Linked DNA regions of Homo sapiens: all the other regions are linked to region 4. The links are contacts of gene promoters, found by promoter capture Hi-C in blood cells and fetal thymus (Javierre and others, 2016). All regions are on one chromosome and are shown on one strand. The core of a region is centred on a gene start or on the middle of the fragment in contact, and the rest is flanking DNA. Distances in the headings are between cores, read along the strand shown.

Region 1 (3,376 bases), core at 120-2,619, 880 kb before region 4:
TGTGCTAGTAGGGGTGGGGAGCCAGCCTCGGAGTAAACCTTGAGGGCATAAGGAGAAGTACTGCTCTGGGCTCGAGGCTCAGTTAGGACACTTCAAGGTAGGCAATTGCAGGGGGCTGCTTGAGGGCACAAGGTGCCCCATATTCACAAATAAGGGTGGTGGGGAGGGAGATGAGGGGAAGAGAAACTCAGAAGAGTTTGAAGGGCCTGGGAAGCAGGTGTGCATTCTCCTTAAGCTAGCCTGGGCATGACGTCATCAAGAATTTTGCTTAAGTGGTTGGGTACAATTGGTGTACACATCAAAGAATGCGGACTTTGGATCAGGTTGGAGTTGGAACTCCACTGTTTGTCAACCACATGACCCCGGGCAAGTTATTCAACCTCTTGGAGGCTGCATTTGTAAATGGTGCTGGTATTTACCTCATAAGTTTCTAGGATTTCATAACCCACAGTAAACACTTCATAGATGGCATATATTTGCTCACCTTTGGACACCCTGCTCCGGCATGTGGCCCCCAGCAGGTGATCAGAAAGGTCTGCCGGTTCATTTGAAGAGGAGCGGCCCCTCACCCCCAGCAGCAATGTCTAGTCTCGATTCTGACCGTGGCAGTTAAAAGTTTCTTGGAGGTCCTTTCCTAGGCACTGATGCTGGCTGGGTAGCCCTGGTGTTCGTATGTCTAGATTGAACAACTGGCAAAATCCACACTGACTTTGACCTGAAGAGTGGCTGACTTTTCATTCTCAGAACGCTTATGCAGAATTATGGTTTCTATTGTCAGAATCTCAGTGCCTTTTTATTTAAATATTCCCCTTCATGCCATTCCTTTAAAAGCATTATCCCTCTCATAAAGCTTATAGAGCCTATTTCCAAGAATTTTCTATAAATTCATTTAAAAGCTATCATTAGTCAACAGGCTGCTTCTGACTACAGGCAAGACTGCAGGGAAAACCTTTTCCTACGGGGAAGGGACCCAGATGTATACTTAATAGTTGTGTCTTGGACCTGTTACTAAGTGAAGATTGTTCTAGGAAAGTAGGCCTGGACTGAGGTATTAGATTTCTAATCAACAGGCTGGTCTCATTCAGAGTTTGAACCAGCACTCTGGGGGAGAAACCACTTGTGGCCGTTGAATTACTCTGGCTAGCCTGTCTCAGAAAGACCATCCACAGCCAGGGCTAATGAGACAGTTGAAGAAAGAGAAATACTTTACCTGAGGGTTTTGGTTTTTTTTTGGCTTTTATTTTTGTGTGTGTGGATTACCACCATATAGCTCACCATGTTATCCCAGAAAGACTACAATTTCATACAGAATGCACAGATGTTTAAATAAAAAGCCATTTAAGTGAGGGGATAATTCTCACTAAAAAAAGCTCAAAAATAAGAAATGACAATTCTAGATACACTTTTTTGACATGTAAAATGACATAACCATAGTCACAGGGAATAAAGAATCAGGTTTGAATGTCCACAGGTTTCTAAAACTAAGCTCTGGCTTCGTATCTGTTGAAAATCTTTAGCGGTTGGGGAAAATAGCTATATTTAAAAACAAATATTGAATTTTGAGTTGAAAGGTACATTTTCCTCCCTTGATGGAGACAGAACTTTTCTATGGAGAACCCAAGCAGCCTTTCCATGATCTTACTAAGTTGTCCAAGAGCCAACCCCGATCAGCAGCAACAGGACTCAAGCTGTTCACCCTGCTTTCGAGTTGGCTGAGCTTCCTGCTGCTTTCACACATTCTTCTTTTTCTACCTCAGTTCCTCTTTGCTTGTAGTCTTTCACTCCATTAACTTGCCCAAGCACTGGACTTAAGTATGGAAGAGCCTATACGCAGTTGTAATATATTTCGTATTTTGAAAGTGTAGAAGTTTGTATTAATTTAAAAAGAAAAAGCTTAAATGGAAAGTTAAGCAATCCTGAACAAGAAAACTCTCTCACTGCCTTTGGGCTAGAGAAAGAGTATGCTCTCAAGGAGTTACATAATCTTTTCCAAAGCAGGATGGACTGTATCTATCATACACATTAGGATAAGATGAGCCACCACACCTTAAAGAAATCAGGCTTGAGCCTATACAAGCCATAACCAAATAGAAGATTTTAAACAAAGGAGCACATAGCCCAAAGCTGACATGTTATTTCTATAAACTCTGGTATATATGTGAAGGAGTTACTGTTGGCTGGCTTGTGGGTTTTTTGACTCACTACATTTTTTTAGACAAAATCACAATGTGAAGGCACATTAATAGTTGAGATTTTCTTTTCCTTCCAGGTGGACTTGCTGACTGATTAGTTTCATATACTACTTAGTAACCTCAAGAAGTAGCAGGAGGATGCCATGTATCAATCTTGAACTTCAAGTCTCACTGCAACAAGGATGGAGACTCCAGCAGAGTGCAGGGTGGGCACAGACAGGCCACAAGATGGCGCAGCACCTCCATACTTGGGCTCTTGACAACCAAGTAGGTTTTTTTTTTTTTTTTTTTTTTTAATGTCCACTAGGAGGGAGGATGCTACGATTTCAGACCTCAGCTATTAAATAGTAAATCTGGAAAACTAGTGGATAAATTTGCCATCTCCATTCTATGTTATTAAGACCAAGATAGTGTACTGGTTTTCTTTTAAATCACATTCCATTATGTCATTTAAAATGTCACAAAACCCACACGAAGCATCTCATTTACACTAAGATGCTTATTTAGCTAACACCACTAATGATAAATGCTGTTACAAATATGCATAGTCAGATGATAGTAACCACATACAGAAAAAAAATTTGAACAAGTATTTATTTCTTAAAATTTACTTAAGGGATTAGAGCTAATATATAATAGAACATTTAATATAACATTTGGAGTTATGTCAACATAAAAATAGCTGTGGTTACAATTAGCACATGCAATTCACTGCAAAGGTAAAAATACATGCTATACTCTAGACAAGCCTTCCAAATGAAGTTAGAGTAGATGGGGTAAAACAGCAAGTGAACATGAAAGGATTGCACTTAGAAGAAAGTGGGACATAGCTAGGATATAAAAGAAACATACCTAATGCTAGTCAGTCACTGCATTGTCCTACTAGCAAATTGCACATTTATTTTTAGAGTATATTCAATACACATACATATTGAGACTAGAGAATTTTCAAATATCTACCTTTGAAATATCCCTTTGTTTCTAACACATCACATTATGGTATTAATGTAACAGCACTTAAAACCTGTAGTTATCATTCAAAGCTTGTGTTCAAGAGATAAAAGAACATCATTCAGACAAAGCCTGTGTTCAAGAAATAAAAAAAACATCTATCACTATCGGCCTTAAATGCATCTCATCACACGACCCATCAACTTTAATGAAATGGGTAATGAAGTTAAACT
Region 2 (3,296 bases), core at 137-2,636, 850 kb before region 4:
GGGAAATCAACACTAACTGAAAATGTAATATTTTATATCTGAGTGTAACAGTGGTATGTTGTTATGCTTTTTTTTAAAATGTCCTCATCTTTTAGAGACGCATACTGAAATATCTTTGGATGAAATATGATGCCCGCGATTCTCTCTTCAAGACAATATAGGCAAAGAGTACCTTTGAAATAAGACTGGTCATGAGCTGACCAGTGTTGAAGCTGAGTGATGGGTATGTATGGGTATTCTACTATTCTTTCTACTTTTATTTTTTATTTATTTATTTTTTTTGAGATGGAGTCTCACTCTGTTACCCAGGCTGGAGTGTAGTGGTGCAATCCGGGCTCACTGCAACCTCCGCCTCCTGGATTTAAGTGATTCTCCTGCCTCAACCTCCGAGTCACTGGGATTACAGGCACCCGCCACCATGCCTGGCTAATTTTTGTAGTTTTGGTAGAGACAGGGTTTTGCTCTGGTTGGCCAGGCTGGTCTCGAACTCCTGACCTCAAGTTATCTGCCCACCTCAGCCTCCGTAAGTGCTGGAGTTACAGGCATGGGCCGCCGCGCCTGGGGGATTACAGGCATGAGCCACCGCGCCTGGCCTCTACTTTTACATATATTTGAAATGTTACAGAATAAAAAATTAAATGTTTTAAAATAGCATTTAATATTATTACTTGGTAAAATAAAAATTCCAGCAAAAATGACTAACTTTAATAAATCTAACATGAAACAAATTTAAAATAACGTACCATTCAGATTTTAAAGTGAAGTTTGTCTCCAAGTGTGTTTCCCTTCCACCATCCCACTCACACCTCATTTTCTTCCCCTCGTTCACAATGCAACTCAAATTTTTAGGTTTTTCTGGAGGCACTAAAAGGGATTAATTAGCATCTTTCAGAAAGCTTTATATCCACAAATATTATGCAATTTATATACTACCCAAGGCATTTGCGATCTAAATTAGATGAAAAAAATCAAACCCAAGCAAAAAGTATGGACACAATGAAAGGCTGATGACAATTTCTTTTCTATCCCAACTCTTACACTTCTTTTCAGGAAGTAATATATATACATCCATCCTAACTGTCATCAACTGGTTTGTTTCACATTAATTTTCTATGTAAAATCAACTTTCATTTATAACTGGAAAAAAATATCAACTGATTTCTCCATTAAGTATATTTTTAAAAGTAATATATACATATGTTTGTAAGAGGCAACTAAGTAGAAGCCAAAATGATTCATTTATATTTCTCTTCTTATTGCTTTCCCAAACTCGTTGGAAGAAAAGCAAATGCCAAAACAGTAAAGTCTGGGTGATCCACAAATTAGATAACCCACTTTTGGATCATAGTAAGTTTATTTTGTTTACTTTGTTACTCCAAGGCCAGGCACAGTGGCTCACGCCTGTAATCCCAGCAGTTTGGGAGCCCGAGGCAAGTGGATCACCTGAGGTCAGGAGTTTGAGACCAGCCTGGCCAACATGGCGAAACCCCATTTCTACTAAAAATATGAAAAATTAGCCGGGCGTGGTGGCTCATGCCTGTAGTCCCAGCTACTTGGGAGGCTGAGGCAGGAGGATTGCTTGAACCCGGGAGGGCAGTGAGCTGAGATGATGCCACTGCACTCCAGCCTGGGTGACAGAGCGAGACTCTGTCACCAAAAAAAAAAAAAGGATTTACTCCAGTATTTGTTCGCTTTCTTCAGGTAGCTGCTTTACACGTGCATTTTCTCAGCAATTAAGGGATACTGAGAATTACCATCATTATGTCAATTCAACAATACTTTCCTGTGGTGGGGGGGGTCTCATGTCAAATATTTCTCTAGTAAAGTGAAACTGCTTGACTTTCAGGAAAGACAGGAGACTTGTGGTTCCTACTTCTAAGCTTATTTTTTAAAAACCAAACATGTCCAAGTCACTAAGTCCACAAGTTACTACATTTTATAAAGATGAAAGGACAACATTAAAAATGCAGTTCAATAGTCATGACAAAGTCTGAAATAAGACAAAAACAAAACTTACAGCCTGAAATTATTGTGATTCCATAAACATTCTGTTCAAGCTGTCCGAATGTAAGAATGTTGCAAGTGAGCTGAATATTTAATGAAGCTATATCTGTAAAGGTGACACTGGATGCTGTTCTGTTTATGATAGTATATTGCTCCTTAGGAATAGTAAAATGGTTTGTTTTCCAGACAATGTAATTAGCATTTACATGAAAATAATCCATACATTTTTCCTTTAGCACACAAACTGCAGTGAAATTAGAATGAAGTTGTACAACTGGAGATTCAGGACTGATATAACCACATGGATCTAGAAGTTCACCTAAAAAGGAACAATAGAAAATATATAAATGGACTGAATTTTTCTGGTACAAAATGATATCTAGCTGGTAGCACTCAATGTAGAGTCCCTCAACCGTCACTAAAATATCCCTAAAGACACAGAAAAAGACAATACACAACTGAAAATTAATATGGTTAGAATTTAATGCCTGAATTTGTAAAGAAATATACAAATTATAAAGATAATAGAGCTGAATTAAGAAAAACCCATTCATGCTTTATAGCCCATGGTATAAACTATTTCTTTAAGAAACACAGACTGCCTGCAGCATGATTCATACTTGCCCCACAACGTATCCTGTCCCTCCATTTAGATCCCAGGTCTAAACTAAACTCTCCAGAAAACAGGCAGTGGTGGTCTCCTCTACAGTCCTGAATGCTGTTGTGGAGTACAGTTGGGGTCACAGACAGTATACATTGTCCACACATCAAAACTCAGACAACAAAGGAAACAGCAAGGGACCAATACAAAACAGGAAGAATAGAACAAGATGGCCAAATAGTTTAGTTTTAAGAATAAATGCATGGCCCTGGGTATGATGGTTTGCGTCTATAATCTCAGCACTTTTGGGAGGCCGAGGCAAGAGGATCGCTCGAGCTCAGGAGTTTGAAACCAGCTTGGGCAACATAGGGAGATGCCATCTGTACTAAAAACAAAAAAAATTAGCCGAGCATGGTGGTGCACGCCTATAGTCCCAGCTATTCGGGAGGCTGAAGTGGGATGATGGCTTGAGCCCAAGGGGTCAAGGATGTAGTAAGCCACTGCACTCCACCCTGGACAACAGAGTGAAAATAAATGCATGGGATAGGATCCCCTATTTAAAAACAAAGAATCAGCCTAACCAACATGCTAAAACCCAGTCTCTACTAAAAATACAAAAATTAGCTGGGTGTCATGGTGGGCACCTGTAATCCCAGCTGCTTGGGAGGCTGAGGCATGAGAATCACCTGAA
Region 3 (3,040 bases), core at 529-3,028, 810 kb before region 4:
ATGGTCCAACCCAAATGCAGAAAATCAGTGTAAACCACTTAGACTGTGATTCTGATTTCAATAAAAAGTGAATTTTTTTTCCAAGTAGGAATATGTTAAGCTGTTTTCTCTAATCAGAGACAAATTTTCAATGCCTGGATAACAAGTATTATCCTAAGTGCTACCCCTTTTTGTGTGCCAGCTATGTGACAGAAACTCACTATACCAGACACTTTATATCCCAATTAATCTTTGCAACAAACAGGGCAGGAAATAGCAGTTGTTCACTGTAGTCACACTCTTATGACCTAGAAGTGTTAATTTATATATATGTAAATTGTACATCTTCCTTATATATTATAATTATATAATTAAATTATACAATTATTATATATTATATTATATATTATATATATTATATGATATATGATATATGATATATATTATATTATATATTATTTATATATTTAATATATATCATATATAATATATATTATATATTATACAATATATACATTATATATTATATATTATACAATATATACATTATATATTATATACTATATATTATATATCATATATACTATATATAATATATAATATATGATATACTATATAATATATAATATATGATATAATATACTATGATATATAATATATGATATATGATATATCAAATATATAATATACGATATATAATATATAATATATGATATCATATATTATATATTATATATATTATATATTATATATTATATTTTATATATGATATATGATATATCATATATCATATATAATATATATGATATATCATATATCATATATAATATATATATTTTATATATTATATATGATATAATATATATAATATATGATACATGATATATAATATTATATATTATATAATATATTACATATAATATATAATATAATATATATAATATATACTATATAATATAATATAGGATATATAATATATATAATAATTATATTATATAGTATATATTATATATAATATATACTATATAATATAATTATATAATTATATAATTAAATTATATAATTAAATTATGATTTATATAATTATATATTCCTTATATATTATAAATGTATATATTATATATTTATTGTATATAAATATTATATATATAAAGAAACACAGTCTCTCTGTCATGCAGTGGCTCTATCATAGCTCACTGCAGCCTCAAACTCTTAAGCTCAAGTGATCCTCCGGCCTCAGCCTCCTAAGTAGCTGGGACTACAGGTGTGTGCCATTACGCCCAGCTAATTAAAAAAAATTTTTGTAGAGATGAGGTCTCCCTATGTTGCCCAAGCTGGTGTCAAACTCCTGGCCTCAAGCAATCCTCTTGCCTTGGCCTCCTAAATTGCTGGAACTACAAGCATGAGCCACTACACACAGCTATTTTGGTGTATTTCTAATATCTTTTAGATGCATATAATTTTTTATTTGTTTTGTCAATTACCACCATGGCCTAAACAATTTCCTATGTTGTTAAAAGCTTATTTTACTGACTACACTCATGACGTTTTTAATAGTGCATTGAAATTTTCCAATAAATTTCACAGATATATTGGGAGTAGACATAGCAGAGGGTATGGTAGCCTCAGATTAGCCTGGGTGTAATCTTGGAAGGAGGCAACTGCCTTGCTGCTCCCTCTACTTTTGCCTCTCCTGTAGCCAAGCCTCAGGAGAGGCTTTTCTGCATGGTTTCCAGGGTTTGGTTTGTGAGGGAAGAAGATGAGGGTAAAGTCAACTCAAACTTCATCATAGCATTGTGCCCACTTTGCCCTGTCACTGCCATTCTCCAGCAGAAACACTTTGGACACCAACACATGCTCCCTCTTGGAGAAACTTTCTAGTTTGGGTAAAAAGACCAAAAAGTGGGAAAAAATTAATTAGAAATATGGAGATCATGGGTGGAAGGAGCTACCATGGCATGACCCTGAAAGCCCTCAGCATATTCTGGCATGGATCTCTGAGGAAATACAAGATGACCTCTGTGTGAGGTGTTTTTCATGTTGGTTGGAATTTTCACTGGTAAGAACACAAGTACCTTTAAGCTTTGGCCAGAAGGTTTCAGATCTTGAATAAACCCAAACTCATTTGTGCTTTTTCTAAGTAGAATAGTCAGGTTGAACCTGTGGATCAACAGTTGACATTATGCCAACCAAAATATTTCTCTTTTTGGAAGCAACTAATGAGTTTCAATAATTCTTCTTGAGTCTTTCTCACATAAGGAAACAGGGCACATCATTAAAACTGCCCTGGAGGAAATTATATGATAATCTTTGTAAAACTAACATTCCAGAAGGGAGGGGACTTTACCAATGCAGGGGATTATTAATAGCTATTTTGTGCCTTCAGATGGCATGATGCTTTATGTGTTAGTGAATTTCACAGGATCACATATGTGCAAGGGGGCCAGGCTCGGATCAAGGGGGTATGTGGCTGCTGGCTCTGATTTTTGTTCTGCTGGGCCTTGGTGGAAGCAACCAGTTAGGCAAATAGAGCCAGGCACACTATCCTTAATGTATTAGACAATTGGTAATTCTTTGTTGTTTATGATGATAGGTTTGATAGGAATCTCTGGACATGGAGATAGAAAACCAGGTGGCTCTACCATTTATTAGTTCTATAACTATAGACAGATTACTTGTCTCACCTGAACCTCCATTTCCTTATCTGTAAAATGGAAATACAATCTCTTTCAATAAGTTGTTATGAAATCTAAATAAGATAATATATGTAAAAGTGCTAGACATGGAAAAATATTTTATAATTTTTAAGGTATATTATTATTGTTGTTATGATTATCATTACTAGTAAGTTTAATCATGGAAGACTTATGGACTGACTAGTAAACTAGGATAACTTAGTGGGGATCTGTGGTTTGGAGTCTCAAAATAATAATGAAAGCCTAAATGTCAGACCTTTTTTTTTTCCCCTGAGACGGAGTTTCACTCTTGTTGCTCAGGCTGGAGTGCAATGGTGCAATCTTGGCTCACCGCAATCTCTGCCTCCCGGGTTCAAGCAATTCTC
Region 4 (3,236 bases), core at 67-2,566:
AGACGTTCCTCCTGGGTTTTGGGAGATTCCCCATCCTAAACAAACCAGCTGGAGGAAAGGAAAGGAAGGAAGAAATAAACGCAACACAGAAGTTCTCCTCAGTTGACAAAAGGTCAAAAATCATTAACGTGTAAATGTTGCTTTTTCCATCCCAAAGCACCTTCTCACGTAGAGTCCAGGGACTAGGAGGACTCACAACGCAGCGATGGGCAGCCAGGCCCTGCAGGAGTGGGGACAGAGGGAACCCGGCCGGTGGCCCGACCCTGCAGGGAAGAAGGACGTGCGGCGAGAAGCATCGGATTCGGGGAGGGCCGGGACCTGGCCGAGGGTGACATTACCGAGCACTTCCTGGCACAGCGCTGGTCCCCTCCCCAAACGCGCTATATGTGGTTCTGTACGGGACTGCCTTTCCCAAAGACAGCCAAGGAAAAACTAAAGATCGACGGGGACACCCGCCTCCCTTCCTCGCCCCAACGGTTTCTCAGAGGCTGTGGGGACTTGGTGAGGGTAGGGGGTAGTTGTCCCAAATCAGCAGCTTCAGGATGTAAGGTATTACAGAAAACTTTGAAGTTTTGTTATCTGTAGCACAGGGACAGGGGTGGGACAATAGAGAAGGAATGTTTTCTTTTCAAAAGAAAACACAAACAAAACTTTATTTTTCTGGTCCGCGGCAGCCTGTCTGCTGAACGTTGACTTGCTTTCGCTTTGCAGCAGGCGACGGTCCCGGGCGCCACCTGCGCGTCGGTGGGAGGCTGGTCCACGCCCGGGTCCCCCGACGCCCACTGCAAAGGGCAGTGGGAATGACAGACTGTAAACCCTCTCGCCTGCGTCCCCTTCAAGCACCAGAAACCCAAGTTGGAACTAATTCTTTCTTTCGGAAGGTGCAACTCCCCTCCCGCGAGCTCCGCGGTGCCGGGCCGAGATTGCCGAGAGGAAGCGGCGCAGCGCTGCCGCCAAGGCTCCTCCTGTCGCCGGTGCGGCCGGGACTACCTGGCGGCGCGGCGCGTGCAGCGCGCAGAGTCCCGGGAGCCCACGCCTCCGCCTCCGCCCCCGCCCCCTCCGCCTCCCAGTCCACCTCGCCCGCCCGCCCTCTCGCCCGGCGGAGAGCACAGCCCACTCCCTCCCACCTGCGGCCGCCGGGCCGCCCTCCACCCACACCTCTGCCGCAGGCCGGACCCAGTGCGCCCGCCCGTCGGTCAGTCCAGGCCAGGCGCCCGGCGGGCCGCGCTCACGCAGTTGGCGCAGGAGGCCTTACGCTGGCGGCGCAGTGCCCGCCCCCTGCGCTCTCCCCGCCCCCTCCCTCCCTCGCAGGGGCCGAGCGAATGTAGCCCGCGAGAGAAAATGGCGGCGGCGGCGGGGAATCGCGCCTCGTCGTCGGGATTCCCGGGCGCCAGGGCTACGAGCCCTGAGGCAGGCGGCGGCGGAGGAGCCCTCAAGGCGAGCAGCGCGCCCGCGGCTGCCGCGGGACTGCTGCGGGAGGCGGGCAGCGGGGGCCGCGAGCGGGCGGACTGGCGGCGGCGGCAGCTGCGCAAAGTGCGGAGTGTGGAGCTGGACCAGCTGCCTGAGCAGCCGCTCTTCCTTGCCGCCTCACCGCCGGCCTCCTCGACTTCCCCGTCGCCGGAGCCCGCGGACGCAGCGGGGAGTGGGACCGGCTTCCAGCCTGTGGCGGTGCCGCCGCCCCACGGAGCCGCGAGCCGCGGCGGCGCCCACCTTACCGAGTCGGTGGCGGCGCCGGACAGCGGCGCCTCGAGTCCCGCAGCGGCCGAGCCCGGGGAGAAGCGGGCGCCCGCCGCCGAGCCGTCTCCTGCAGCGGCCCCCGCCGGGTGAGCAGCACGGCCGGGGTCGCGGCGGGGACTTGGAGAGCGGGCAGAGGGCAATGAATGAACCCCGGGCACCATGCACGGCGTCCCGGGGTTCAGCGCAGCGAGGCTACGCGCCGCTCGCCGGGACCTACGCCCCTGAGCACCCCCCGACCCCTTCGGAGTCGGGCGGCGCCCCGGACCCAGCCTGGGGGACCGGACGGGGACGTGCGGAAGAGTTTGTTATTGTTTGCAGACATGTGACAGGCGTGCGAGCCTCTCTGCGGGGAACCGTTGCGAAAAGGTGTAGGGGGCCACGGCTGGCTTTGTGGGACTCCTGGAATCGGGGCTCTCCGAGGAGCCCGGGGGCGGGGCACGGCCCTGCGGCGGCGCCCCCGGACGGGTGTCCCCGGGGCAAAGGCACTGGGGGGCGAGGCCCGAGCCTGAGGCGGGCGGTGGTCGGAAGAGGGGCGGGGTGGGTGAGAAGCCCGAGGTCGGGTGGGAGACTGAGAGGACCGAAGAGAAAGTAGCAGGTCCCAGCGGCCGTGACAGGCAGAGCCCCTCGGCCCGCCCGGGACTCGAGTCCCTAGGCAGATACCGCGGGCTGGGCCCGGACGCAGGCGGCGCGCCCCCAGCGCCGGCCGCAGGGCTCCAGGAGGACGGCTCGGTAACGCCTGTCAAAGCCGTGCGGCGGGAGGCTGCACACTCGCGGAGGCTTGCAGTCTTTTAGGAAGTGCGGTTTGTCTAATTGCAGCCCCCAAGGGGCTTTGAGTGTTCCTGGGAATGCGAACTGCACTGCTAAGTCACTTGAGTGACTTCTGTTTGGAGTTTGAATTTGGCCTTTGAAGTTTGCATTTGGCGGAGTGGTGTAAGAGCCAGGACCGGATGTGTCAGCCATTCAGTTTCAAAGCAGTGGTGACTGCTCCCCGCAGCCCCTCCGGCTTGGCCCGGGGACTGCGGCGCGGGTGCAGTGCTTCCTGCTCGGTGCCCTGGCGCGGGCCGCCCGCTGAATTCCAGGGGCCGCAGTGCGGTGGGCTTCGGCTCAGATGCGTCTTCTGGTGCATATGAAGTACAGTATGTGTAAGGTAATTTAGACCAGCGGTTTATTGGCCTCGCCCATTTTTGGCTACTGGAAATTTTTATGTTAAAGGAAATTCTTTTAAGTGTGACAGCTACATCCTTGTTTGTTTGTTTTTTAAAAACCTGATTAACGTATGCAAAGTACAAAGTCTTGATGGGTATTTTGAGTTGCTGGAAATGTTTTTGTGATAGTCCCTCGTGGCCCTGTAGAATTCCCTGACCTTTATTATGAGAAGAAAGCGTGTCATTTTGTGAGACGAATTTGACAGTAGGAGTCCTTGGTTTGGATTCATTATCTAAAGTGATCTGGCATTTTTTGTGCATTTGATTATTTGCTTAAAATCACGATCCATTTAG
Region 5 (3,168 bases), core at 346-2,845, 900 kb before region 4:
GGCAGGGCAGATGGACTCAGCCTTCCTGGAATGACTTTGACTTCATGCTTTGACAAGGGGAAAGGGCTTCACCAGGCTCATGAGGACCCAGTGCGTTCCCAGGTGGAACTGGTCCCATAAAGGATGCTGCAGAATAAAGACACTGGCCCTACCCTTCCTGACCTGATGGGCTAATTAGAGAGAGAGGAGCCTTGGCTATAGGATTTGAAGCCATTTACAAAGCAGCCAAGAGCACATTAATCTAAAGACTGTCTAAATATCACCAGGGAATGTTGATGGGCATGGCAGTCTGAGGCTGCCTCAGGTTGTTTTTCTCAGGCTGGGGACGTCAGAGTCAGGCTTTATTTAACTGGCATTGGGGTTTTCTAGTGAGTATTCCTTAACTAGAAACCCTCCATTTGCATAAATTTTTAAGTGGAAAACCGTTAGGGAAATTTTAAGGTTTAATTTCTTGCTTACGTAGAAACAAGCCCAATCAAATATAACCTTTAAATCCTTGTTACTGAAAGGCTGTTTCCAGTTTTTCCTTGATGCACAAATTTTAAATATTAGTCCTCGTTCCCACTCAGAAGTCTTTTTTGAGCATGGGCCTTTTGTTATAATGGGCTTTCTTTCTGTTTCCTCCTCTTATCAGTCCGGTATACTGGACTGATTTATACCCCCATTTACTTTCCTGCTTATTAAATGTCATTTAGAGAGTAAATGGATTCATAGGCAGTGCTCTCTGATAACTAACATGCTTTTTGAATAATCCGTAGGTTGGACCTCTAGAGCCGGCACTTATTAATCACTCACTACATGCCAGGTGCTGGGCTAGGCCCTAGGGATACAAATGACAAAGTCACTGTCCCTGCCATGAGGCCACTTCTGATTTTCTGGTGAGGTTGAACAAGTCTGTCTCTATGATGTGGTTTTTCCATCCCTAAGAGTTCTAATTTTAGTTCTTCCATCTTAACTGGGGTTTTGTGAACATGGGATTGTGTGGAAAATAGCCTTGCACACTCTAGCAGAAGAAATTGTTTGAATTGGCTGGGTACAGCGGCTCATGCCTATAATCCCAGCATTTTGGGAGGCCAAGGCAGGGGGGATTGCTTGAGCTCAGGAGTTTAAGACCAGCCTGGGTAACATGACAAAACCCCATCTCTACAAAAAATTAAAAAGTAGCCAGGTATGGTGGTGTGCATCTGTAGCCCCTGCTACTCAGGAAGCTGAGGGGGAAGAATTACCTGAGGCTGAGAAGTTGAGGCTGCAGTGAGTGGTGATCATGCTACTGTACTCCAGCCTGGGCAACGGGAGTGAGACCCTGTCTCAAAAAAAAAAAAATTATATACATATAAATAAATAAATTTTAAAAATTGTTTGAATCCAGGGCACTGTTTCTCAGGAAATGTGCCACTCCTTCCAAGCTCTGTGGAAGGGCATGCAGAGAGGGTTGGCTACCACTTCTGGGCCTGGGAGGAAGGTGGGGGCTGTTCCAGAGATGGGCATTTGCTGTCCCAAGCCTAACGAGTTTTTGGCTATGTCATATGTGACTCCTAAATGACCACTTGGGATGTCCCTTTTTCTTTTCCAGGATAAGCTAAACCTGAAGGAGTCTGATGACTCTGTGAACACAGAAGACAGGATCTTAAAACCATGTTCCACCCCCAGTGACAAGTTGGTGATTGACAAGTTGGTGGTGAACTTTGGGAATGTTCTGCAAGAAATTTTCACAGATGAAGCCAGAACGGGTCAGGAAAACAATTTAGGAGGGGAAAAGAATGGGTATGTGACCTGCCCCTTCAGGCCTGATTGTCCCCTGGGGAAAAGTTTTGAGGAGCTCCCAGTTTCACCTGAGATTCCGCCCAGAAAATCCCAATACCTACGTTCGAGGATGCCAGAGGGGACCCGCCCAGAAGCCAAAGAGCAGCTTCTCTTTTCTGGTCAAAGTTTAGTACCAGATCATCTGTGTGAGGAAGGAGCCCCAAATCCATATTTGAAAAATTCAGTGACAGCCAGGGAATTTCTTGTGTCTGAAAAACTTCCAGAGCACACCAAGGGAGAAGTCTAAATGCGACCATAGCATGAGACCCTCGGGGCCTCAGTGTGGATGGCCCTTGCCAGAGAAGATGTCAAGACTCGGCACGCAGCGCTTGCTTGGCCCTGCCACATCCTGCCTAGGTTAAAGTTTCCCCTGCCCCTTGAGCTGCCAGTTGAACTTGGTCGGCAAAGATGCGACCTTGTACTGGGAAGAAGGGATGGTGATAAGCCCGAGTTTTGTAAAGGAACAGCAGTCTCTTTTCGTTTGTTCAGATACCAAGCTCTCACCGAGGCCTCCTGACAGATTGACTTTGAAGGAAGGGCCCAGGTTCTGAGCCCAAAGGACCCCCAGGGTGGACATATCTGGCCTCCCAGGAATTGGGTCATGGTCCCAGCCTTTGCTGGGGCTGAGCCTCAGAGTTCCAGAAGGCCTTTCCCTGCTGCCAGAGGACAGTTGTTTTGTTGGCTCTTGGGTGGTCTGGTGGGAGCCTGGGCTCTGGTCTTCCCCTACAAGGTAGCCCTGAAGCCTTCCTCTCTCCCCATAGTTGGGGCTGGAGGTGGAGTGGACCTTCCTAAGGGGTTGTCTGAGGCTCCTCACATCCTCTTAGATCTCAAGTGCCTGTAGCAACACCGCACCTGAGAATCCTCACCCCCAATTTAGACTGCATTGACTACTAAAAAATCAAGGAATGGGGAGGGCCCTGGGGAATGTATGCTGCCGGGCGCAGCTCTGTCCAGTCTCCAGGGGGCCACTTCCCAGCTGCTGCTGCCCTTCTATTCAGCACCCAGCCTGGGAGCAGAAAGGCACCTGACATTGCAGTGGTTGTCATATAGGGACGCTGGCCCCTCACACTGGTTCAGAGCCCAGGAATGCTTACTTAAAAGGCCTCTTCCCGGAAGCAGCAGGGCAGGGCCTGGGAACATGCAATGCCTAGCAAATTTGCAGCCCCAACAGGAGGACTTCTGCTCCTTTTCTCTAGCTGAGCACAGAGCTTGTGACAGTTAGTGGAGCCTTTCACGAAAGTGTGGATTGCTGGCTTCAGCACTGAGATAGTACTGGGCTCCTCCTGTAACTATAGTGACAGAGTCAGCTGTGACTCCCTTGACCTTTGTGGGAGGCCACTAGGAGGCTGGTGAGATCAGGGCAGG
Region 6 (3,227 bases), core at 306-2,805, 860 kb before region 4:
TAGAAAACCCAAGGGAGGAGGGAGTTTCAAGGATGGAAGGCCAACAGAGTCAAATGCAGAAAAGGCTGGAGGCAGTGGCTTATGTCTATAATCCCAGCACTTTAGGAGGCCAAGGCAGAAGGATCACTTGAGCCCAGGAGTTTGAGACCAGCCATCTCTATAAAAAAAATTAGCTGGATGTGGTGGCACTGGTCCCAGCTACTTGAGAAACTGAGGTAGGAGGATCACTTGAGCCCAGGAGGTCAAGGCTGCAGTGTGCCATGTTCATGCCATTGCACTCCACTGTAGCCTGGGCAACAGAGTAAGACCCTGCCTCCAAAAAAAAAAAGTAGAAAAAAGATGAAAACTAAAAAGCATGCAGTACATATGATGATCAAGAGGTCTTCTGAGTGACACCAGAGAGGTTTCAGTGCAGGGGTGGGGTAGGACCCCTAATTTCAGTATGTTAAATACTGAGTGGGAGGTACGGAAGTGAAGACTGTAAAGTGGACTAGTCCTTCAAGTAATCTCTCAATAAAAGAAAGAAATGAGGATAGAGAAGGAAAGAACACACCCAAACCAGTGAAAAAAATGAACCCACATGGAAAGATACACAAATTCTTTTAGGATTTTTAGTACAGCTGAATATAGTCAGAAGCAGTTAATAAAATACCAAAAAGGTGAGGAATAACACTTTCTATAAAGAAACCACCAACCAAAGCCAGATAATATAAAAATCATCATGAATCCAAAGATGTACTTTTTAACACAATTTTAGCACATAAACTAAGTTCATTTCTAACCTAAGTTTGAGAAAGAAAAAAAACCAAACTTCATTATTTCTTACCAAACTTTGGGGTAGTAAAAGTGAATTCTGGACCATCCTTCCCACCTTCATCTGTGTATGCTGCCATTCGTACCATGTACAATGTGTCACTAGTCAAAGAGGACAATGTATATTCTGTGTGGGAAGAATCCACATTCACAGCTGGAAGAAATAAGAACTGTGCTTCATTCAACTATTCAATGCTTTTGCTTATTTGGCCTATATTTGGCATTGTGAAAGTGTTAAAAAAGAAGCGAAGTATTTTTGTTGGAAAACAACTTTTATAATGTTCTGACATAATTTTATGTTCTAAAGCACAACACAATACTTTTTCAATAAATCCATGAAAGTAACCATAAGGCAAATTCTCAGGTGTCTCCTGAGGCCAATATACTATAAGATGTATAAGAAGAACAGACTTAAATTAGTACTTAAAAGCTTAAGGAAAAAATAACTGATTCTTAATAACTGATACAGTTTTATTACCAGTTTCATTTCCAATGATGGTTCTATAAAATATAGTATAATTTCTGATAAATCCATTCTGAACATCAACAGGAAGTTGGTCCCACTCTAAGACAGCTTCGTTTTTCCCTACTTTTTTTGTCCGAACAGTAGGTCCTTTGGAAGGTGCTGTAACAGAGTGAACACATTTGCTAACTGAAAATCATTTACAATCTAGTAAAATTTCCTTGTCATAAAATCATTTGAACATAATGAGATACATCTTTATTTAAAAGCGATAAAATGTTTCTGTTAATACAAAGCCCTAAACTTTTTTTTTCAAAGAAGTGAGTTTGGACTTACGAGCTTGTTTAAGGTATGCCTTTATGGATTCAGGGCTTCCTGGTCCATCAGCATATACTGGAGTAACTGTTATCAAATAGCATTTGCTCTCTGCTAAGTTCCCTAAAGCAAGAATAGCAGATTAAGCATGTTTTTCCATAATGAAAAAGTCAAGTTAATACCGTAATTTATTTTTACATTATAATTTCATGACCACTTAATTTTCTTTTAAAACTGCAGTTTTCTAAGTAAGCATTGTCTTTTGTGTACTGGATTCAAGCTTAATCAGGTAAAACTGTCTGTAAAAGTATTGCCAATGCAGTGGATAAAAAATACATTGTTAAGAACAATGATGGTATTTACATTTAGAATTTATAAAACAATGATCTCAAATTACTCTGGATTTTATAGAGTCTGACAATTTTTGTATGTCTTACCTACAAGAGAGAACAGCCTAAGGAGCAAGACGACTAAAGCAGTAAGACCTAGGGGAAAGCACTAACGGTCCTAGTTTGCGAGTTGGAAAAAAGGGTATCTTAAAAAATTTCCTCGGCCAGGCGCTGTGGCTCACGTCTGTAATCCCAGCACTTTGGGAGGTTAAGGTGGGAGGATCACTTGAGGTTAGGAGTTTGAGACCAGCATGGCCAACATGGTGAAACCCCCCTTTACTGAAAATACAAAAATTAGCTGGGCATGGTGGTGGGCACCTGTAGTCCCAGATGCTTGGGAGGCTGTGGCAGGAGAATCACTTGAACCCAGGAGGCGGAGCTTGCAGTGAGCCGAGATCGCACCACTGCACTCCAGCCTGGGCGACAGAGTGAGACTCTGTCTCAAAAAAACAAAAACCAAAACAAACTTCCTTTATTTTTATCTTTTTTAGCATGCACCACTAAAATTTTTCTTATTTATACAGTATATTATCTGTACATATTAGAAAATGTTTTATTGAAATTTATACCTTCAATAAGAATGTATATTCCTTAACTATTACTCATGAAGTTACATGCTCCTTTACCTTCTTAAACAGATTTTACCTTTTCTTAATGATTCAATATTACCAAAAAATGAACAATTTTTATATTCTACTCTAATGTGATGCTTTCAGGGTTACTGAGCAACATACGACTACCTACCCAAACTTAATGTCTCCACAACTTATGCTAGCTTCTATTTTTTTTGAGATGGAGTTTCGTTCTTGTTGTTCAGGCTGGAGTGCAATGGCATGATCTTGGCTCACTGCAACCTCCGCCTCCCGGGTTCAAGAGATTCTCCAGCCTCAGCCTCCCAAATGGCTGGGATTACAGGCATGTGCCACCACGCCTAGCTGATTTTGTTTTAGTAGAGACGGAGTTTATCCACATTGGTCAGGCTGGTCTCGAACTCCCGACCTCAGGTGATTTGCCCGCCTCAGCCTCCCAAAGTGCTGGAATTACAGGCGTGAGCCACCGCATCGGCTGCTGCTTTAAAAAGTTTCTATTGGCTCTGAGCAGTGGTTCACGCCTGTAATACCAGCACTTTGGGAGTTTGAGGTAAAAGAATCGCTTGAGGCCAGGTGTTGGAGATCAGCCTTTGCAACACAGTGAGATTCCCTCTCTACAAAAAAATAAAATTAGCTGAGTGTGGCAGCATGTGCCTG
Region 7 (3,119 bases), core at 411-2,910, 830 kb before region 4:
TCTTGAAATCAATATTCTGTGTGCACTTAAAAAGCACTGCTGCTGCTGGTAGAGTGTTACATAAATGGTCATTACGTGAATTTGGTTGATAGTGTTCAAATCTTCCATATCCTTACTGATTTTCTGACTACTACTTCTATCATTGTTCAAAAAGGGATATTGAAATCCCTGAATATAACTGTGGATTTACTTCTCCTTGCAGTTTTTACCCTGTTGTGTTTTGAAACTATGTTATTTGGTAGATCCTTTTGATAAATTGACCCTTTTATCATTAGGAAATGCCCTTCTTTACCACTGGTAACATTCTCTGAAATCTACTTTGATATTACTATAGCCAATTCTGTCTTACTTTGATTAGTGTTATCATGACATATCCTCTCCCATTCTTTTTTGTTTAATCTGTATGTTTCTTCATATTTAAGTGGCATCTTTAGGGGGTAGGCAGCATGTGGTTGTATCCAATCTGATAATCTCTGCTTTCCAATTGGGTGTTCAGACCATTTACATTTAATATAATTTGTGATATGATTAGGTTTAAAGCTATCAGCTTCATATTTGTTTTCTTCTTGACTGTTCTTTGTTCCTGTTTACTTTTCTGCATTTATTTTTCTTAATTATTTTTTATTCTCTTTTCCTTGTTAGCTAATAAGCTATAATTCTTTGTTTTCTTATTGGTTGCTTTAGGTTTATAGTGTACATCTTTAACTTTTCACAATCTATCTTCAAGTAATATTATGTCACCTCAGGCATAGTATATAATAGTATACTTCCATTTCTCCCCCCAGACCTTTGTGCTATTTTAGCATATATTTTACTTTTGCATATATTAAAACTTCACATTGGTAGCTCCCACCTGAAATCCCATCACTCTGGGAGGCCAAGGCAGGAGGATCACTTAAGCCCAGAAGTTTAAGATCAGGTTGGGCAATATAGTAAGACTCTCGCCTCTACAAAAAATAAAAAGTTAGACAGCTGTGGTGGTGCATGCCTGTTGTCCCAGCTACTCAGGAGGCTGAGGTGAGAGGACTGCTTGAGCCTTGGAGGTCGAGGCTGCAGTGAGTTGTGGTTGCACTACTGCATTCCAGCCTGGGTGACAGAGTGAGACTGGCACATATTTACTCGTGTGGTTACCATTTCTAGAGCTTTTAATTCCTTTGTATAGATCCGTATTTCCATCTGGTATCATTTTCCTTGGGCCTGAAAAACTGCCTTTAACATTTTTTTGTAGTATGGTTAGAGAAAAGTCTAAATAGATTTGAAAACAAAACCAAAGTGTGAATGCTAACAAGTATTTAGCCTAAAATAAGCACAGTTCAAAATGAGAAAAGATACTGCTAATTACTATATTAACAGACCAAAGGAAAATGACAGGGTCATTCCAACAGATGTTTGAAAAGCATCTGATAACATTCAACAACTGTTCATCTAAAACTTAAAAATAACAACAAAGTGTCAGAAAACTAAGACTGAAAGAGACCATCCTTACCTTGGTGAAGGATAACAAAGATGATACAGGGACTCTAGAACCAGATTGCTTGTGTTCAAATTTCAGTCCCTATATTTTAACATCTTAGGCAAGTTTTTAAATAGCCTTCACTTTTACTTCCTTTATCTGTAAACATGGGGTACCACCACCACCTACCCATCTAGGAATGTTATGATGATTAAATAACTCATTATACATAAAGTGCTTAGAATCATTTGGCTCATTGTAACTACTCAATAAAAGGTTAACAGCTGTTATTATTAGTGCAGCTCTTGCTGTTGCTGCCACAGGTACTACTATAAGAAACCTACAAGGCCAGGCATGGTGGCTTACGCCTGTAATCCCAGCACTTTGGGAGGCCGAGGCAGGTGGATCACAAGGTCAGGAGTTTGAGACCAGCCTGGCCAATATGGTGAAACGCTGTCTCTACTAAAAATATGAAAATTAGCTGGTCGTGGTGGTGGGCACCTATAGTCCCAGCTACTTGGGAGGCTGAGGCAGAAGAATTGCTCGAACCCGGGAGGCAGAGGTTGCAGTGAGCCGAGAATGCACCACTGCACTCCAGCCTGGGCGACAGAGTGAGGCTCTGCCTCCAAAAAAAAAAAAAAAAGGAAGAAAGAAACCTATAATAAGCATCTATAGGTTTAAAGGTAAAAATTAGAAGCGTTCCTATTAATGTCAAGATTCAGACAAGATGCTTGAAGTCATCAGTTATTCACCACTGCTCTAAAGGGCTTAAGCAAAAATATAATAAATAAGATCTAAAAATGGAAAATAAATTGTGAATGATATGATCATCTATCAAGAAAGAGTGAGAATCACATGACAAACTATTAGGACTATTGAGAATTTAACACAGTAGTCAAACAAAACATCATCAAAAAATAATAGGACTATTTAGAGTTTAACATAACAGTCAAACAAAACATCATCAAAAAATAGCTCTCCAGCTGGCGCGGTGGCTCACGCCTATAATCCCAGCACTTTGGGAGGCCGAGATAGGCAGATCACCTGAGGTTGGGAGTTCGAGACCAGCCTGACCAACATAGAGAAACCCTGTCTCTAATAACAATACAAAATTAGCCGGGAGTGGTGGCGCACACCTGTAATCTCAGCTACTTGGGAGGCTGAGGCAGGAGAATCACTTGAACCCAGTAGGCGGAGGTTGCAGTGAGCCGGGATGTCGCCACTGCACTCCAGCCCAGGCAACAAGAGCAAAACTCCATCTCCAAAAAAAAAAAAAAAAGCTCTCCTACATACCAGTAATAACTAATTAGAAAATGTAACAGAAGGCTGGGTGCAGTGGCTCACGGCTGTAATCCCAGCACTTTGGGAGGCCGAGGTAGGTAGATTGCTTGAGCCCAGGAGTTCAAGACCAGCCTAAGCAACATGGCAAAACCCCATCTCTATAAAAAATAAAAAAAAAATAAAAAAAAAAATCAGCCGGGCATGGTGGACCATGCCTGTAATCCCAGCTACTCAGGAAGCTGAGGTGGGACAACCACTTGAGCCTGGGCTTATAGAGGCTGCAGCAAGCTAAGAAGCCAAGATCTTGCCATTGTACTCCAGCCTGGGTAACAGTGCGAGGCTCTGTCTCAAAAAAAAAAAAAGTCTCGCAGAAAAAAAAAAAAAG

The links. Contacts are between HindIII fragments. The CHiCAGO score rates a contact against its expected background, and 5 or more counts as called.
Region 1: a contact is called between a fragment that was not itself captured here and the fragment with the promoter of MAP3K1 in region 4, in 7 of 17 cell types (naive CD4 T cells, fetal thymus, monocytes and 4 more). The highest score is 10.9, in naive CD4 T cells.
Region 2: a contact is called between a fragment that was not itself captured here and the fragment with the promoter of MAP3K1 in region 4, in 6 of 17 cell types (naive CD4 T cells, total CD4 T cells, total CD8 T cells and 3 more). The highest score is 8.5, in naive CD4 T cells.
Region 3: a contact is called between a fragment that was not itself captured here and the fragment with the promoter of MAP3K1 in region 4, in 2 of 17 cell types (total CD8 T cells and naive CD4 T cells). The highest score is 7.8, in total CD8 T cells.
Region 5: a contact is called between a fragment that was not itself captured here and the fragment with the promoter of MAP3K1 in region 4, in 1 of 17 cell types (naive CD8 T cells). The highest score is 6.9, in naive CD8 T cells.
Region 6: a contact is called between a fragment that was not itself captured here and the fragment with the promoter of MAP3K1 in region 4, in 8 of 17 cell types (total CD8 T cells, naive CD4 T cells, total CD4 T cells and 5 more). The highest score is 9.6, in total CD8 T cells.
Region 7: a contact is called between a fragment that was not itself captured here and the fragment with the promoter of MAP3K1 in region 4, in 3 of 17 cell types (total CD8 T cells, fetal thymus and naive CD8 T cells). The highest score is 8.3, in total CD8 T cells.

The regions. Positions count from the first base shown.
Region 1 is chr5:55,933,878-55,937,253 of GRCh38, forward strand. It overlaps IL6ST (interleukin 6 cytokine family signal transducer), which reads right to left. Exons shown (of 17, transcript NM_002184.4): 17 at 1,218-3,376. Among named protein-coding and RNA genes, the nearest start is that of IL6ST, 59 kb to the right of the region's middle. The HindIII fragment of the contact is 1,043 bases long and covers 849-1,891 here.
Region 2 is chr5:55,967,533-55,970,828 of GRCh38, forward strand. IL6ST (interleukin 6 cytokine family signal transducer) reads right to left here. Exons shown (of 17, transcript NM_002184.4): 4 at 2,018-2,323; 5 at 744-864. Among named protein-coding and RNA genes, the nearest start is that of IL6ST, 26 kb to the right of the region's middle. The HindIII fragment of the contact is 984 bases long and covers 895-1,878 here.
Region 3 is chr5:56,006,847-56,009,886 of GRCh38, forward strand. No RefSeq gene overlaps it. Among named protein-coding and RNA genes, the nearest start is that of IL6ST-DT, 13 kb to the left of the region's middle. The HindIII fragment of the contact is 562 bases long and covers 1,498-2,059 here.
Region 4 is chr5:56,814,233-56,817,468 of GRCh38, forward strand. It overlaps MAP3K1 (mitogen-activated protein kinase kinase kinase 1), which reads left to right and starts at 1,317. Exons shown (of 20, transcript NM_005921.2): 1 at 1,317-1,823. The coding sequence starts at 1,342. RefSeq lists enhancers at 545-674, 2,126-2,949 and silencers at 1,035-1,804, 1,875-1,994, 2,175-2,414. The HindIII fragment of the contact is 8,983 bases long and covers 1-3,236 here.
Region 5 is chr5:55,915,071-55,918,238 of GRCh38, forward strand. IL31RA (interleukin 31 receptor A) reads left to right here. Exons shown (of 15, transcript NM_139017.7): 15 at 1,574-3,168. The coding sequence ends at 2,050. Among named protein-coding and RNA genes, the nearest start is that of IL31RA, 65 kb to the left of the region's middle. The HindIII fragment of the contact is 5,310 bases long and covers 1-3,168 here.
Region 6 is chr5:55,950,638-55,953,864 of GRCh38, forward strand. IL6ST (interleukin 6 cytokine family signal transducer) reads right to left here. Exons shown (of 17, transcript NM_002184.4): 12 at 1,613-1,714; 13 at 1,292-1,438; 14 at 827-967. Among named protein-coding and RNA genes, the nearest start is that of IL6ST, 43 kb to the right of the region's middle. The HindIII fragment of the contact is 628 bases long and covers 1,242-1,869 here.
Region 7 is chr5:55,986,052-55,989,170 of GRCh38, forward strand. All of the region lies in intron 1 of IL6ST (interleukin 6 cytokine family signal transducer), which reads right to left. Among named protein-coding and RNA genes, the nearest start is that of IL6ST, 7.4 kb to the right of the region's middle. The HindIII fragment of the contact is 3,824 bases long and covers 1-3,119 here.